Linked DNA regions of Homo sapiens: region 1 is linked to region 2. Evidence: promoter capture Hi-C in 16 types of primary human blood cells and fetal thymus (Javierre and others, 2016). All regions are on one chromosome and are shown on one strand. Each heading gives the region's core, a stretch centred on a gene start or on the middle of the fragment in contact. The rest is flanking DNA. Distances are from core to core; before and after follow the strand shown.

Region 1 (2,700 bases), core at 58-2,557, 190 kb before region 2:
GATGACTAAATGTTCCGGTGTGGTTCAGGTTTCTCTCTGGGGGTTGAAAATGTTATAAAGTGCAATGGGAGATTTTCTAGGCAGAAGATGGGTCCTTTGCCTTCTGAGAGATGGGGCTACTTCTCTTGGGTTTCACTCTATAGGTGAAGGCGGAGTGAGGGGAGAGGGCCGCCCCTTGAGGGCTCAGCAGGGCCCTAGCCTGCGCCTGTTTTCAGACCAGGTTGCTGCTCTTTTGGCTGACGTCATAAAACAGAGCCCTGGGTGGGCGTGGTGGCTCACGCCTGTAATCTTAGCACTTTGGAAGCTGAGGCAGCGGGATCACCTGAGGTCAGGAGTTCAAGACCAGCCTGCTCAACATGGTGAAACCCCATCCCTACTAAAAATACAAAAATTAGCCACGTGTCAAGTGAGGAGCACCTCTCTCTGGCCGCCGCCCTGTCTGGGAAGTGAGGAGTGCCTCTTTCTGGCCGCCACCCTGTCTGGGAAGTGAGGAGCACCTCTGCCCGGCCGCCGCCCACCATCTGGGATGTGAGGAGTGCCTCTGCCTGGCCGCTGTGCAACCCTCCAAGTGTGAAGTGACAGCCTTGTGGGTGATACTTCTGCCCTCCCCAAGTTTGCATTTTTGACATTGAAGTTTACTTTTTAATTAAAAGTTTTAAATTGGAGAATAAAAAAAAATTAGCCAGGCGTGGTAGCACACGTCTGTAATCCCAGCTAACTGGGAGGCTGGGGCAGGAGAACTGCTTGAACCTGGGAGGTGGAGGTTGCAATGGGCCAAGATCGTGCCACTGCACTCCAGCCTGGGCGACAGAGCAAGACTCTGTCTCAAGCAATAACAACAACAACAGAGCCCCAAGTCAGTGTTTCTCAACCTTGCCCCAACCGCTTCCGAATCACCTGTTATTTGTCAAAAATGCAGATTCCTGCCCCCAACTCTGATTTGTTGAATTAGGATGAGGAAGAGGGGACAGCGCCCAGAAATCTGCACTCTCGGCTGGCACCCCAGCCATCACTTATGCACCTGAATGCTTGAGAAATTCTGTCGCAGAACATGGACTTTGGAGTGTCACAGACCTGGGTTCCAGTCCCAGCTCTGCCACAAAGTAGCTGCGTGGTCTGGAGCAATCTCAGTCTCTGTGAAACTCAGTTTCCTCATCTAAAGAAATAGGTTACTACACAAGCTTATTGGTCTTGCTGTGAGTTGATTCTCACAAGACCAATCAAACAATGAAGAAATGTACGCAAAGCACTGGGCACCTCGGAGAGATGGCACCCCCAGCCTAGTGGTAAAGAGAGGGATGCATAGAGGAATGCTTTCTCTGGGAGGAAAGAGCTGGGAGCACTGAGCATTACTCACCCACTGGCAAACACTGACCCACTTCAAAACAATTCTGACTTTCCATTTCCTCTGGGGGGAGCTCAGTGAAGCTTTCAAAGGTGACTAGGTCCTTTCCCATACTCAGGTGTGAGCCATCCCAAGTCCCAAGTTGGGGTCAGGTGTTGTAAACAAAAAATAATACAATTTTGACTCCTTCCACACCTCCAGCTGAGCCCTCCATCCACGGCCCCACCTGCCATTTCCCCTCCACGTGACATTCCTAGATCCCTCACTGGGTGGCAGGCCCAGTCTGAAAGGCCCTCTTGGCAAACCACGGGTCTGCCAAGGTCCCTGGGACCTGTAGCCTCAAAGCCAGGAGTTTCCAAATCCTTCCTTCTCTTTGGCTCTCCCAGTCTGGCCATGCAAAGAAACGCCAGAGCTTTTAAAAAGTTTCGGCCATTCATAATGGATTAGTCCACTCCGGAAACATTCCCCAGCTCTGCTGAGAGCCTGCCAGGCGACTTGGTGACGTGCTGCTCTCAGCGCACACAATGGGCATGGGAGAACAATGACGAGGAGAAAAACATCCCGCCCGCGTGTCCATGGGCTCACATCCTCCTAGGACCCCGCCCCCGCATGCGCTCCCAGAGCTGGGGGAGTGGGGCGGGGGGACGGGGAGGGAGGGATAGAGAGAGGTGCTAGAGGACAACTGCGAGAGCAAGTGAGGGAGGGGAAGAGGAGGAGCTCACCCAAATTTCCCCGGTTTGGCTGCATTCTGAACCAGTTGGGTGAGTCAGATTAGAAGCCAAATCTGCTTATTCTGGCTCTCCTGCTAGCCCCGCGGCCACTGCTCACGGCCCGATGCTGAAACGGATTAAAACCTGAGCTGGCAAACAAAACAGTTCAGAGTTACTGACCTACGGTGCACAGCGTTGGGGCAGGGGTGTGCCTGGTAGGAGGCCAAGTGTTGCCACTTAACCTCCCATGTGCAAGGAGTTCAAAATCCCAAAGCCTCAGTTTCCCCATCCACTGAAATGGGGAAATCGTGCATGCTCTGTTTCCCTCACAGAAGGTGAGGCAACAAGGGCTACTGGGCGTGAAAGCATTTTCATAATTATTAAAAACATTAGCCAGGCGCGGTGGCTCACGCCTGTAATCCCAGCATTTTGGGAGGTTGAGGCAGGTGGATTACTTGAGGTCAGGAGTTCGAGACCAGGCTGACCAACATGGTGAAACCCCGTTTCTACTAAAAATGCAAAATTAGTCAGGCATGGTGACATGCACCTGTAATCCCAGCTACTTGGGAGGCTGAGGCAGGAGAATTGCTTGAACCTGGGAGGCGGAGGTTACAGTGAGCCGAGATTGTGCCATTGCATTCCAGC
Region 2 (2,700 bases), core at 61-2,560:
ATCCTCCTACCTTGGCCTCCCAAAGTGCTGGGATTATGGGCATGAGCTACTGCACCCAGCAATTCTCTATTTTACTTCTTTCTTCTAACATTCACTTTCTCTTTCCTCTCTTCCTGAAAAGATGGCTAGGGAGGAAGAAGGGAATAAATATTTCCTATGTTCTAGACACTCATGGCTGCTTTACCTGGTGATATAAACCTATATTTTAAAAAGTTGAGGTATAAATTACACACAATAAAACCCACAGTTTGATGGTTTTTGACAAATGTATACACCCTTATAACCACCACTCCATCAGTTATAACGACATGATTCATCCTCACACTTAATCCATGAGAGATTGGTGTCACTGGCTCCATTTTATAGCTGAGGAAAGGGAGGATCAGAAAGATTAACAACAATAGCCATAACAATGGCAAATACTATGAGCCAGGTACTGTTCTAAGCACGTTACACATATTACCTCATTTAATCCTCTCTACAACCCCATTGGTCCCATTTTACAGACGAAGAAACTTGCCAAAGGTCACACAGCTAAAGAGTTAGAGCAGGATTTCTGGTGCTCAGATTACCTTATTTCCCTTACAGTACCTCCAGAGAATTTTTTTTAAGTTCCCTCATTAGATTTTCTTTTATCCCAGAGAGAAAAATCTCCCCAAACAAAACTAAAGGCCATCGGAAGGAAAGCCATATCGATGCTAGCCCCCACTCCATCCCCGGCTTTCTTTAAACTACGGGCAGTCAGATTTAACATCATGGATAGAAAGGTTGGTCTTGAAGAAAAGCCTTGTTTTGCTACCCATTAAACAGTGGGCTTTTCATCTAAGAAAGTCCTTCAAGCCTTCTGCCCAAGTAAAGTGATCAAATTCCCCTGAGGTTCAGCTTGACCTGGTAAAACACGTTGCTTTGTGGAACGAGTTTCGCTTTGCCAGCGGTGCTGAGCATTTCCTTGGGAATCTCGCACCCACGCTGGACCACACTGATGCCTCCTCTGTGCATAGAAAGGCAAAGGTATGGGGTGGCTGTTTGGGACCTTCATATAAAAAGGTCAACCCACTTCTCTGCCTTTTACCCACAGCCCCACCCCTGAGGAGGGAAAAATCTGCAATTGTTGGATTAGGGCTGAGGTGCACATTTGCCCTTTGCATAACTGGCAGCGTTGCAAAGGACAGCCCCTTTCTCTCTTCCCTCCATTCTCTCCCATCTGGCAGAGGAGTCCGGCTCCCTAAATCTTCTTTTTGTTGGTTAGTTTCCATGGCAGTTATTGTCTGTGTGTGTGAGCGTGTCCGCCCCCTCACCCGCTCTCCTCGCAGAGCGGGCCTTTGCAGCTGAGACTGGGTGGAGGGAGAGGCGCGGAGACACTGGGGCTCTGACGAGCTGGCTGAGGCCCTCTCAGTAGGGGGGTCACGCCTCCTGGAACTCAGGGACCCCAAGTTTCTGTGCATTCAGGGCGGGGCTGGCCCCATGCCCTGTGCATAGGGGCCTGGCTGCATCCCAGTCGATCAGCCAGAGGCAGCAGCAGTGGACTCATCAATTGTGGAGGAAGCCCTGGGGACCCTGGGGACCTTGCCGACTCTATTCCCAGCCAGCTCCTAGGACAAGCCTCAGAGCCAACACCCGCTCGACCCTCTCCCGGCCCCTCCCCTTCTTTGTCTTTTGCAGATGATCGCCGGGTGTCGATCCTTTTCCCTCCAGTCAGGTAAGTTTTATTTCAATCCATCTATGCAGAGTGATGCCTTGGCATTCTGAGGGCCTGCTGGTGGGGAGACAGGCAGTGGTGTCTGTGAGAGGAGGGCTGCCCAGGTAGACAGGCTGGCATGGGGGTCAGGAGGGACAAGGGTCTCCAAGGGCCTTTTCTCCTCAGCTGGGCCTCTCTAGCTTTGAAGTTAAAGGTTCCTTCCCATCTGGTTTTAACCCAGCTAATTAACTCCAAAGATTGCTGTCCAGGGCACAGACTGACCAACATACAGCCAACCTCCAGAACTTCTGGCTTCTGATCCGAATTCAGCTCAACTTTATGGAATATCAAACAGAAAACCAAATATTGCATATTCTCACTTACAAACGTGGGAGGTAAACCCTGGATGCAGATGGACATCAAGATGGGAACAATAGACACTGGGAACTCAAAAAGGAGGGAGGGGGGGAGGGGGACAAGGGCTGAGAAACTTCCTATTAGGTTACTGTGTTCACTATACAGGTGACGGGATCAATAGAAACCCAAACCACAGCAACACGAAATACACCCTTGTGACAAACCTGCGCACATGCCCCTGGGTCTAAAATTAAGATTTTTAAAACTTATGGACTACCTACTATGTACATACACATTGCTGTGCTTGGCTCCGAAGGGAAAGTGCTTTGACAGCAATGGCACATAACATGGTTCCTGCCTTCCGATGCTTACCATCTGGTAAGAAAGAATATCTACATAGACAGGTATGGGGATTCCGGGGCCAGGCAAGCTAGATGTCACATCCCTGTTCTGGCTGTGTGACCTTGGGCAAGTCATTTAACCTCTCTAAGTCTAAGTTTTCACCTTTGTACAATGACAATAATAATAGTACCTACTTTATAGGCTAAATTATACACACACACAACTCACACACACACCAAACTCTGATCAGTTCATGACGCATATTGAGCACCATATACTTGTTAAAGATGATTATTATTGTTATTATTGACTTTTTATGAGGT

The links. The method cuts DNA at HindIII sites, captures the fragments that hold promoters and counts their contacts. A CHiCAGO score of 5 or more calls a contact.
Region 1: a contact is called between a fragment that was not itself captured here and the fragment with the promoter of KLHDC8A in region 2, in 2 of 17 cell types (total CD8 T cells and naive B cells). The highest score is 6.6, in total CD8 T cells.

What each region holds. Positions count from the first base shown.
Region 1 is chr1:205,542,867-205,545,566 of GRCh38, reverse strand. No RefSeq gene overlaps it. Among named protein-coding and RNA genes, the nearest start is that of SLC60A1, 25 kb to the left of the region's middle. RefSeq lists silencers at 1,887-2,016, 2,117-2,166 and an enhancer at 1,732-2,026. The HindIII fragment of the contact is 247 bases long and covers 1,184-1,430 here.
Region 2 is chr1:205,355,532-205,358,231 of GRCh38, reverse strand. KLHDC8A (kelch domain containing 8A) reads left to right here and starts at 1,310. Exons shown (of 6, transcript NM_018203.3): 1 at 1,310-1,699. The HindIII fragment of the contact is 6,427 bases long and covers 1-2,700 here.